Regions from separate parts of the Homo sapiens genome. Here all the other regions are linked to region 4. The links are contacts of gene promoters, found by promoter capture Hi-C in human tissues and cell types (Jung and others, 2019). All regions are on one chromosome and are shown on one strand. Each heading gives the region's core, a stretch centred on a gene start or on the middle of the fragment in contact. The rest is flanking DNA. Distances are from core to core; before and after follow the strand shown.

Evidence for each region. The method cuts DNA at HindIII sites, captures the fragments that hold promoters and counts their contacts. A contact is called where the count stands out against the background at its distance.
Region 1: a contact is called between a fragment that was not itself captured here and the fragment with the promoter of CDK5RAP1 in region 4, in 2 of the 25 tissues and cell types used here (IMR-90 fibroblasts and neural progenitor cells).
Region 2: a contact is called between a fragment that was not itself captured here and the fragment with the promoter of CDK5RAP1 in region 4, in 2 of the 25 tissues and cell types used here (dorsolateral prefrontal cortex and thymus).
Region 3: a contact is called between a fragment that was not itself captured here and the fragment with the promoter of CDK5RAP1 in region 4, in 1 of the 25 tissues and cell types used here (aorta).

Annotation. Positions count from the first base shown.
Region 1 is chr20:33,774,592-33,777,539 of GRCh38, forward strand. The region is part of intron 10 of ZNF341 (zinc finger protein 341); the gene reads left to right. Among named protein-coding and RNA genes, the nearest start is that of ZNF341-AS1, 35 kb to the right of the region's middle. The HindIII fragment of the contact is 6,435 bases long and covers 1-2,948 here.
Region 2 is chr20:33,801,580-33,804,444 of GRCh38, forward strand. All of the region lies in intron 1 of ZNF341-AS1 (ZNF341 antisense RNA 1), which reads right to left. Among named protein-coding and RNA genes, the nearest start is that of ZNF341-AS1, 8.1 kb to the right of the region's middle. The HindIII fragment of the contact is 4,512 bases long and covers 1-2,865 here.
Region 3 is chr20:33,744,901-33,748,027 of GRCh38, forward strand. ZNF341 (zinc finger protein 341) reads left to right here. Exons shown (of 15, transcript NM_001282933.2): 3 at 203-399. Among named protein-coding and RNA genes, the nearest start is that of ZNF341, 14 kb to the left of the region's middle. The HindIII fragment of the contact is 8,876 bases long and covers 1-3,127 here.
Region 4 is chr20:33,400,126-33,402,938 of GRCh38, forward strand. It overlaps CDK5RAP1 (CDK5RAP1 mitochondrial tRNA methylthiotransferase), which reads right to left and starts at 1,394. Exons shown (of 14, transcript NM_016408.4): 1 at 1,303-1,394. It overlaps LOC124904889 (a long non-coding RNA gene), which reads left to right and starts at 1,457. Exons shown (of 2, transcript XR_007067567.1): 1 at 1,457-1,550. RefSeq lists enhancers at 1,105-1,194, 1,335-1,534. The HindIII fragment of the contact is 17,720 bases long and covers 1-2,813 here.

The DNA of each region.
Region 1 (2,948 bases), core at 54-2,553, 370 kb after region 4:
CTGTAGCGCAATGTCCAACAAACAGACTGATTTAATGGGATCACTGCACATGTGGTTTTATCACTTAAAACTTTTTCACTTAAAACAGTAATATAGCTGGGCATGGTGGCTTATGCCTGTAATCCTAGCACTGTGGGAGGCCGAGGCAGGCAGATCACTTGAGGCCAGGAGTTCAAAACCAGCCTGAGCAACATGATGAAACCTTGCCTGTACAAAAAATACAAAAATTAGCCAGGCATGGTGGCATGTGCCTGTAGTCCCAGTTACTTGGGAGGCTGAGCTGGATTGCTTGAGTCCAGGAGTTCAAGGCTGCAGTGAGCCGTGATCATGCCACTGCACTCGTGAGACCCTGTCTCGGGGAAAAACAAAAACATCAGTAATATGGACATCTTTGCATTTCAGCAACAATAGACCTGCCTCATTCTTTAAACAGCTACTTTGTATTCCATTGTGCATGGTGTACTGTGATTTACTTCTGTCATCTCCCATTGTTGGTTAGTGAGGTTATTTTCAGTTTGTCATCAGTATAACAATTATACAGGGAACAACTTCGGAAGTACATCTTTGCTCTTTTCTAAGTTCCTAGAAGTGATTTTGCAGGTCAGAGTTGAAAGGGTTTTGTTTTTTTTTTTTTTTGAGATGGAGTCTCGCTCTGTTGCCCAGGCTGGAGTGCAATGGCAGGATCTCAGCTCACTACAACCTTCGCCTCCCAGGTTCAAGTGATTCTCCTGCCTCAGCCTTTCTAGTAGCTGCGACTACAAGGCACCTGCCACCATGCCCCGCTAATTTTTTGTATTTTTAGTAGAGACGGGGTTTCACCATGTTAGCCAGGATGGTCTCGATCCCTGACCTCGTGATCTACCCACCTCGGCCTCCCAAAGTGCTAGGATTACAGGTGTGAGCCACCGTGCCCGGCCTTTTTTTTTTTTTTTTAAAGATTAATTATCTACTTCAAAAACTATATGTATACAGTGCAATATTGTAAAACTATCACAGGACATAGAGTGAACAGGAATTCTCCATCCACTGTGACCCACTTCCCCATATCACGGGCAATCATGTTCGAAAAGTGTTCTTTGTAAACCTCTTATTTTGTCATAATTTTATTATTGATTGATTGATTTTTGAGACAGGATCTTGCTCAGTCACCCAGGCTGGAGTACAGTGGCACAATCATGGCTTGCTGTAGCCTTGACTTCCCTGGCTCAAACAATCCATCCCCCTCAGCCTCCTGAGTAGCTGGGACTACAGGTGTGTGCCACCACTGCCAGCTAATTTTGGTATTTTTTGTAGAGACAGGGTCTTGCTATATTGCCCAGGCTGGCCTAGAACTCCAAGGCTCAAGCAATCCACCCTCCTCAGCCTCCCAAAGTACTAGGATTACAGGCATAAGCCACCATGCCTGGCCTTCAATATATGTGTTTTAAAGCTTTCCTTTGTTTCATGAATTTAACTTATGTATGTATTTTAATTTTAATATAATTAATTAATTAATTTTTTGTTTAGAGACAGGGTCTCACTCCATCACCAAGGCTGGAAAGCAGTGGCATGATCATGGCTCACTGCAGCCTTGACCCTTGACCTCCCCAGTCTCAGGTGATTCTCCCACCTCAGCCTCCTGGGTAGCTGGGACTACAAGCATGCACCACCATGCCCATCTGATTTTTTTTTTTAAACTTTTTGTAGAAACAGGGTTTCGCCATATTGCTCAGGCTTGTCTCAAATTCCTGGGCTCAAGTGATCCTCCTACCTTGGCCTCCCAAAGTGCTGGGATTACAGGCATGAGCCACTGCACCTGGCCTTTTTTTTTTTTTGAGACAGGATCTCACTCTGTCACCCAGGCTAGAGCACAGTAGCATGATCACAGCTCACTGCAGCCTTCGCCTCCGGGGCTCAAGCAATCCTCCAGCTCAGCCTCCTGAGTAGCTGGGACCACAGGTGTGTGCCACCAGGCCTGGCTAATTTTTTATTTTTTATAAAGATGGAATTTCACCATGTTGACCAGACTGGTCTGGAACTCCTGGGCTCAAGCGGTCCACCTGCCTTGTTCTCCCAAAGGTCTGGGATTATAGGCGTGAGCCACACACCTGGCCAATTTTTATTTTTTTAGAGACAGAGTCTCACTGTGTTGTCCAGTCTAGAGTGCATCAGCTATTCACAGGTGTGGTCGCCTTGCCTCAGCCTCCCCAGTAGCTAGGACTACAGGCAGGCGCCATCACTCCTAGGTAAATTTGTTTGTTTGTTTGTTTGTAGAGACAGGGTCTTACTGTGTTGCCCAGGCTGGTCTTGAACTCCTGGCCTCAAGTGATCCTCCTGCCTGGCCTTCCCAAAGTGCTGGGATTACAGGCGTAAGCCATCACACCTGGCCTGTATTTCCTAAAAACAAGGATAACCTCTTCCATAAGGGCAATATACTATAGTTACCAAAATCAGGAAGTTGGGCTCTGTGCGGTGGCTCATGCCTGTAATCCCAGCACTTTGGGAGGCTGAGGTAGACAGATTGCTTGAGCCCAGAAGTTTGAGACCAACCTGGACTACGTGGCAAAACCCCGTCTTTACCAAAAAAAAAAAAAAAAAAAAAAAGAGGTGGGTATGGTAGCATATGCCTGTGGTCTCAGCTGCTCAGGAGGCTGAGGCAGAAGAATTGCTTTAGCCCGGGAGGTACAGGTTGCAGTGAGCTGAGATCGCACCACTGCACTCCCGCCTGAAGGACAGAGTGAGACCCTATCTCAAAAAAAAAAAAAAAAAAAAAAAAAAATCAGGCCAGGTGCGGTGGCTCACACCTGTAATCCCAACACTTTGGGAGGCTGAGGTGGGCGGATCACCTGAAGTCAGGAGTTCGAGACCAGCCTGGCCAACATGGCGAAATGCCGTATCTACTAAATTATAAAAATTAGCTGGGTGTGGTGGCGGGCACCTGTATTCCCAGTTACTTGGGAGGCTGAGGC
Region 2 (2,865 bases), core at 200-2,699, 400 kb after region 4:
TCTTTATTGTAGCTTTGCAGTAAGTTTTGAAATCAGGACATGCGAATCTTTCAACTTTATTTTTCTTTTTGAATATTGTTTTGACTATTCAGGGTCTCTTGCGATTCCATATGAGGTGTGGGATAAACTTGTCCATTTCTGCAAAAAATGCAGCTCAGATTTTGAAAGACTTGTATTGAATCTGTTGAGCAATTTGGAGAGTGTTGCTGTCTTAACAATTAAGTCTTCTAATCCATGGACATGGAATGTGTTTCCATTTATTTATGTCTTCCTTGATTTCTTTCAACAAGGTTTGGTACTTTTCAGAGGACAAGCCTTTCCTTTCCGTGGTTAAATTTATTGCTAAATGTTTTATTATTTTTGATGCTATTGTAAATGGAAATGATTCTTAATATCATTTTCATATTGCTCGTTGCTAATGTACAGAAATACAACTGATTTTTGTGTGTTGATATTGTTGAACTTTGCTGAACTCATTTTAGTTCTAATAGCTTTCTGTGTATTCTTTAGGTTTTTCTCTATATGAGATCATGTCATCTACAAATAGAAATAGTTTTACCTCTGCTTTTCCAATCTGGATGCCTTTTATTTATTTTTCTTGCTTAATTGCCCTGGCAAGAACTTTCAGTACAATGTTGATTGGAAGTGATGAGAGTAGGCATCCTTATCTTATTCCTGATCTTAGGGGGAAAGCTTTCGGCCTTTGTCTTCACCATTAAGTGTGATGTTAGCTGTGGGTTTTGCACAGATGCCTTTTACCAGGTTGAGAAGTTCTCTCCTCTTCCTAGTTGGCTGAGTGTTTCAGGTTTTGTTTTTTTGTTTGTTTGTTTTTTGTTTAATCAGGAGAGAATGTTGGATGAACTCTTTTTTACAACTAAAAATCAGCGAAGTCCTCTGTATTTAATTTGGTATAATTATGTGAGACCAAGTTTCATAATTAAGGTTTTATTTCATAATTTTTTTGATTTTTTGGGACAGAGTTTCACTCTTGTTGCCCAGACTGGAGTGTGATGGTGTGATCTCGGCTCACCGCAACCTCCGCCTCCCAGGTTCAAGCAATTCTCCTGCCTCAGCCTCCCGAGTAGCTGGGATTACAGGCATGCACCACCACGCCTGGCTAATTTTGTATTTTTAGTAGAGATGGGGTTTCTCCATGTTGAGGCTGGTCTCAAACTCCTGTCGTCAGGTGATCCGCCCATCTCGGCCTCCCAAAGTGCTGGGATTACAGGCGTGAGCCACCGTGCCCGGCCTCATTTCATAATTAATGTTTTCAAAGAAGGTTACAAATATATGGCTGGGTATCTTTAACCATGTGACTTTAGTCAATTCCTACTTCTTTGGGCCTCAGTTTCCTCAACTGTAAAATGGAGGTGGATAGTAATGCTTACTTCATGGGGCTTAGAGGGATGATGGAGATAAGATGGGATTTTTGTGTGCAAAGGCACTTTGCAAATAAAAACTATTCTTCTGTTGCTGCTCTTATTAGAGATACTTTGTGTGTGTATTTTTGTTGTTGTTGTTCGTTTCTTTTTTGAGACAGGGTCTCCCTCTGTTGCCCAGGCTGGAGTGCATTGGCGTCATCATAGCTCACTGTAGCTTTGAACTCCTGGGCCCAAGCAATTTTTCCACCTCAGCTTCCCAAGTAGCCCAGACTACAGGCTTGCACCACCATGCCTGGCTAATTTTTAAATTTTTTTCTAGAGAAGAGATCTCACTATGTTGCCCAGGATGGTGTTGAACTGTGGCCTCAAGCAATCCTCCCACCTTGGTTTCCCAAAGTGCTGAGATTACAGGCATGAGCTGCCATGCCCAGCTAGAGATGTTATTTATTTATTTATTTATTTATTTACTTATTTACTTATTTTTGAGATGGAGTCTTGCTATGTCGCCCCGGCTGGAGTGCAGTGGCATGATCTCGGCTCACTGCAACCTCCACTTCCTGGGTTCAAGTGATTCTCCTGCCTCAGCCTCCTGAGTGGCTGGGATTACAGGTGTGCACCACCATGCTTGGCTCATTTTCGCATTTTTTAAGTAGACTTGGGGTTTCACCATGTTGGCCAGGCTGGTCTCGAACTCCTGAGCTCAAGTGATCCATCCACCTCGGCCTCTCAAAGTGCTAGGATTACAGGCATGAGCCACCATGCCCAGCCTGGAGATGTTGTTTTAAATTGTAATATAACATGTTTAATAAAGTACATAAGATACATAAAGGGCAATCGTCTTAAGTATAAAAACTGATTAATTTGTATACAGCCATGTGAACACCTCTGGATCCTGCTATTGAACCTGTTAGCACCTTGTAAGGGTCCTCTTCCTGGTCTGTACCTCCCTGGAGGTAACCATTATTCTGATTCCTAACACCATGGATTAGTTTTGCCTGTTTTTGAGCTTCGTATATATGGAGTCATACAAGCTTTTGTATCTGGTTTCTTTCACTCAGCATAATATCTGTGAGTCATCCAAATTCTTGCATGTATCAGTGGCTCATTCTTTTTCACACAGTTTTGAATAAGTTAATACGAGTTGGTCAAAGTTTGAAAAGGCTGTGCATTTGTCTGAGAGACCAGAAAAATACAGGCCAGCAAAGCCCAGGGCTCTCCAGTATTGAGCCAGTCCACTCTGTGAATCTCTATTTATGGCAGCTGAATTCTCAGCCAGGATGGCAGCTACTTTGCCCATGTGTCACCACTTCCCATCCCATACCCTGGGTAGACATCACAAATCCATCTTGAGCACTTTTTTTTCTTTTTTTGAGACAGTGTCTCACTCTGTCACTCAGGCTGGAGGGCAGTTGCATGTTCACAGCTCACTGCAGCCTCAACCTCCTGGGCTCAAGTGATCCTCCTGCCTCAGCCTCTCGAATAA
Region 3 (3,127 bases), core at 218-2,717, 340 kb after region 4:
GCTTCGAAAACTCCCAGGAAGCACATAGTTGATGGCTGACACCTGCATGTCAAGTCGCAGCATGCCCCCCAGATTGCTGCTTGTGGTCAGCTGCAGTTCTCCTGTCTCATACTGTGATGCCCCTTGACATAGTCTTGCTTTTTTTTCATTACTTTACCTTCATCTGTGGCCTCTTCCCACTACTCTGCGGGTATGACCCCAGATGACGAGGATGTATTTCTCTGCGGGAAGTGTAAGAAGCAATTCAACTCGCTGCCAGCGTTTATGACCCACAAGCGGGAACAGTGCCAGGGGAATGCCCCCGCCCTGGCCACAGTCTCACTGGCCACCAACAGCATCTACCCACCTTCGGCAGCACCCACAGCGGTCCAGCAGGCCCCAACTCCTGCCAATCGCCAGGTATTTGTTCATTTATTCATTCAACATGTCTTTTTTGAGGGCCTAACATGCTCAGGCACTGTGCTGGGCACTGGGGCTATAGCAATGGATAAGACAGACCAAGTCCCTGCCCTTGTGGAGTGGGGCGAGATGGATGGTGCACATGTACTGTTTTCAGCATGTTAAATGCGGAGAGATAGGGGATGCCAGACGGGGATGGGAGGTTTTGCCATATTGTCTATCGTGCTTGGGGAAGAGCTCTGTGAAGAGGTGACCAGGAAGAATACTATATAGCAGGTAAAAGGTTTTGTATGAAAAATCAAATTGTAGAATAATAAGTAGATAATATATTATTATTTTTAAAATCTGAAACAATAGTACTATATAATTTCCGCAGTTACTTAAATAAGTAGGAAGAACATACCAGATAGACCTAAGGAGGTGTGGGAATGAGTTATGCGGCTGGTTTGGGGAAGGAAGCAGGAGCCAGGTGCAGGGATCAGCAGATGCAGAGGCCTTGAGGCAGGAGTGTGCTGGGTTTGTTCCAGAACTATAAGGAGGTGAGAGTGGCTGGGACTGAGTAAGTAGGAAGGTGGGAGGTGCTAGGAGAGGCAGCAGGAGGGTCTTGGCAGATCGTGTAGGGTCTGGGCCTTTTTTTTTTTTTTTTTTTGAGACGGAGTCTTGCTCTGTTGCCCAGGCTGGAGTGCAGTGGCGCCATCTCGGCTCACCGCAAGCTCCGCCTCCTGGGTTCACGCCATTCTCCTGCCTCAGCCTCCCAAGTAGCTGGGACTACAGGTGCCCGCCACCACACCAGGCTGATTTTTGTATTTTTAGTAGAGACGGGGTTTCACCATGTTAGCCAGGATGGTCTCAATCTCCTGACCTCGTGATCTGCCCGCCTCGGCCTCCCAAAGTGCTGGGATTACAGGCGTGAGCCACCGCGCCCGGCCTTTTTTTTTTTTTTTTTTTTTTGAGACGGAGTTTCACTCTTGTTGCCCAGGATGGAGTGCAGTGGCAGGATCTCGGCTCACTGCAACCTCCGCCTCCTGGGTTCAAGTGATTCTCCTGCCTCAGCCTCCAGAGTAGCTGGGACTACAGGCGCGCACCACCACGCCCAGCTGATTTTTGTATTTTTAGTAGAGATGGGGTTTCACCATGTTGGCCAAGATATTCTCGATCTCCTGACCTTGTGATCTCCCCGCCTCGGCCGCCCAAAGTGCCAGGATAACAAGTGTGAGCCACCACACCCAGCCGCTGGGGCTTTTACTGAGAATGACATGGGAGCCATTGGAGGCTGTCAAGCAGAGGAGGGACATAGTGACTTTTATCAGGTCACTCTGGCTGCTGGACAGAGAATAGGTTTTGAGGGAGGGTGAGAGAGAAAGCCAGGAGACCCGTTGAGGGACTGTAGTGCAAATCCAGGCAGTGGATGCGGGTAGCTTGACCAGCATGTTGGCAGTGGAGGTGGTGAGAAAGTGTGAGATTTTAGAAATACTTTGAAGGTGTTGCTGATAGAACTTGTGAATTGATTGGGTGAGGAGTGTGAGATCAAGAAGGGTCACAGAGGACTCCTGATTTAGAGTTGCCACTAGCTGAAGGGAGGAGGCTGTGAGGAGAAGGTTTTGGGGGGATGTCAGGAGTTCAGCTGGGCACGTTGAAGTTGAGATGCCTGCCAACCTTTAAACGGAGGCAGTGACAAAGTAGACAATGTAGATTTCCAAGTCCGGAGGCCAGAGCAGAGGACAAGGCTGGAGGCATCTGGGGAAGCTTCCAGAGTCCTCAGCCGAAAACACGGTTCTGGAGCAAAGACACCCTGGATAGGGGGCTCATAGAAAGACTAAAGGATCCCTCATAAAGGAGGCTGGGCATATCTCAGGATGCCAGGTCAAGGGGTCAGATTTTCAACTGGCTTCCTTTTCTTTCCTTATCCCTTTAGAACATTATCTTCATTCATTGTATAGGTGTCATTTCTGCCATCACTATGAAAGCATTCACCCCAGACCCATAGGACATATAGACTGAAACAGGCATCTTCTGGCATAAAACAGTCATTTTGGCCGGGCGCGGTGGCTCACGCCTGTAATCCCAGCACTTTGGGAGGCCGAGGCGGGCGGATCACGAGGTCAGGAGATCGAGACCATCCCGGCTAAAACGGTGAAACCCCGTCTCTACTAAAAATACAAAAAATTAGCCGGGCGTAGTGGCGGGCGCCTGTAGTCCCAGCTACTTGGGAGGCTGAGGCAGGAGAATGGCGTGGACCCGGGAGGCGGAGCTTGCAGTGAGCCGAGGTCCCGCCACTGCACTCCAGCCTGGGCGACAGAGCGAGACTCCGTCTCAAAAAAAAAAAAAAAAAAAAAAAAAAAACACAGTCATTTTTCTCACTGCTTGACTGTGAGTTTTGCTAGTAGAAAATATTCCCCTCACCATCTCTTACCTTTTTTTTTTTTTTTTTGAGACAAGGTCTTACTGTCGCTCAGGCTGGCCTTGGCTCACTGCAACCTCCATCTGCCAGGTTCAAGTGATTCTCCTGCCTCAGCCTCCTGAGTAGCTGGGACTACAGACACCCGCCACCATGCCCAGCTAATTTTTGTATTTTTATTGGAGATGGGGTTTCACTGTTGGCCAGGCTGGTCTCGAACTCCTGACCTCAAGTGATCCGCCTGTCTTGGCCTCCCAAAGTGCTGGAATTACAGGCATGAGCCACCGTGCCACACCAGATATTCTTCTTGACCTAAGATACTTGTGGACT
Region 4 (2,813 bases), core at 144-2,643:
CTAATTCCGTGGCCAATCTGACGGGAGGCAGAGCTCAGGCAGTAATGCCAGCTTTGCTGCTCACCTCCTGCTGTGCAACCCGGTTCCTCACAGGCCACAGACAGGTACCATTCTACCACCTAGGGTTAGGGGAACCCTGCTATACACGTGTAAAGAGCAGATGTGGCCCATTACCTTTCCAATGAGATGACCTGCCACATCTGCTACTAGCACTTAGGAGCAATGCCAACCCAGTTTCAAGAGTCAGAGAAGAACAGCCTTAAAGTGTGAACTTTAAAATCGCCCCTTTCTACTCCATAATTGCTGTGTGACCTTTGGCAAGACAAATTTCTGTCTCTGAGCCGCCAATTCCACATGTGTAAAATAAGGATAAAAGCAGCACCTACCACCCCATAAGTGTTATTAAGAATAAGATATTAAAAACCCAACTTGAGATACAGTAAGCGTTCACTAACTGCACATTTACAGCCCACACCCCCTTTCACAGAGAGTATTAGAGCATCCTGGTTAAGAGTATGAACTCCACTAAAAATACAAAACTTAGCCGGGTGTGGTGGTATGCGCCTGTAATCCTAGCTACCCAGGAGGCTGAGGCAGGAGAATCGCTGGAACTCGCGGGGCAGGGGCTACAGTGAGCCGAGATCGCGTCACTGCACTCCAGCCTGGGCGACAGAGCAAGACTCCCGTCTCAAGAAAAAAAAAGTATGGACCCTGGAGTCAGAATCTGACCCCACTGCTGCCAAGCCAGCTAAACCTTAGGCACCTGTCTTAAACTCTGGGAGCCTCTAGATGGGGATAATAGCACCTATCTCCATAAGCCTACCGTAGGATCAAATGCAATAATACAAGCAAAATGCTTTGCATAACGCAATGTAGAAGCCTCTCTGGAGGCTCGAAATTAATTCTGACAGTCGGCAATGAGGCTGGAACAACAGCGTACAACATCCCAAACATTTTATTGGCTGGTTACAATGCGTTAGGCATGGTGCAAAGCATTTTCCGCGAATTATTACCTATAACCCTCATAGCAACCCTGTGAGGCAGGCTGTACTGTCAACCCCACTTCACGGGTGGCGAAGCGAAGCCTTGAAAGAAGTGGAGGTGACCTGTCCAAGGTCACACGGGGTTAGGCGGCGGGGTTAGGGTACGAACCCCTACAGCCTGACGCCAGGCCCCACGCCATAACCACCGTGCCATCCTCCCTCTTGAACACCGTGCGCTTCCCGGGATCCGCGGCCCCTCCTGCCCCAGGCGCCAGTCAAAAGCGGGTGCGCAGCCCACCCCGGCGGCCGCGCTGCTCACCTCCCGCAGCAGCAACAGTGCCCGGGGTCCCGCAGCGTAAGTTCTGCCGGCAAGTCGGATCCCCTCACAGGTCCGCCGCTGCGTTCATACACAAGCGACTTCCGTTCCGCCGCTACTTCAGGCCGGGTCATGCTAACGGAAGTGCTTCCTTTTTACAGTCCGGGTGGACCCAAAGCTCCGTGGCGGTGCTGAACTTTAGGGCAGCCACTAGCCACGGACTTAAGCGGCAATTGAGCTCCTCAAAGTGGGTGAGTGCAAATCAAATGTGCGCTAAATGTCAGATACACTGGATGTGGAAGAAGAAATGTCAAATAGTGTCAAATAGTTCATATATATAATGTTTATATTGATTATGTGCTGCAATAATTGTTGGGATATATTGGATTAAATAAGTACATTTGTTGAATTAGTTTTTTTTATTTGTAGCTATGGTGGTAGAAATATTTGAATTAAGTTCACCTGTTGTTTCTTTTTACTTTTTCAATGTGGCTAGCAGGGGGAAAAATAATATGGTGTGATCATGGCTCACTGCAGCTTCCGCCTCCCATGCTAAAGCAATCCTCCCACCTCACACTCCCAAGTGGCTGGGACTACAGGCAGGCGCCACCACGCCCAGCTAAAATTTTTTTAATTTTTTTGTAGAGACCGGTCTCCCCATGTTGCCCAGGCTGGTCTCAAACTCCTACCTAGGCGCAAGCCATCCTCCCACCTTGGCCTCCCAAAGTGCTGGGATTGTAGGCATGAGCCACCGTGTCCGGTCCTTACTGGGAAATTTTAAGTCACCTAAGAGGTTCACGCTCTATTTCTATTGGAGGGTGCTGCCCTGTAGGTTAATGACTTCCTGATTCACATCTCCAGCTGGACCCTCCCTGCAGTACCAGAGCCATAGCTCAGCTGCCTACTTGACACCCCTTCTTGAGTGTCTGATGACCATCTCTAACTTATACAGAACTCTTCATTTCCACACATGCACCTTCACCAAAAACCTGTACCTGTCATTCTGGCCCATCTCAGTAAATGGCCCAACCATCCTTCCAGGTGCACTAGGAGGAACTGAATGGTCATTTTCTTCACCTCCCTGGATCCCCACATTCTATCTGTCAGTAAGCCCTGTCAACTCTAACTCCAAAATGTCAAATCTGTCTACTCGGTAGCTACAACTACCCAGGCCACCATTGTCTCATCAGAAACAATCACAGTAGCCTGCTAATGGTCACCTTGTCTCCTGAGAACAGTTTCCCACACATAGCCTAAGGGAATTTGTGTTTGTTTTATTAAATCAAATTATATCACCCCTCTCCTGAAAACTCTCCGTGGCAGGCCGGGCGTGGTGGCTCACATCTGTAATCCCAGCACTTTGGGAGGCCAAGATGGGCAGATTGCTTGAGCCCAGGAGTTCTAGACTAGCCTGAGCAACATGATAAAACCCCATCTCTACAAAAAACACAAAAATTACCCCGGCATGGTGGTGGGTACCTGTGGTCCCAGCTACTCAGAAGGCTGAGGCAGGG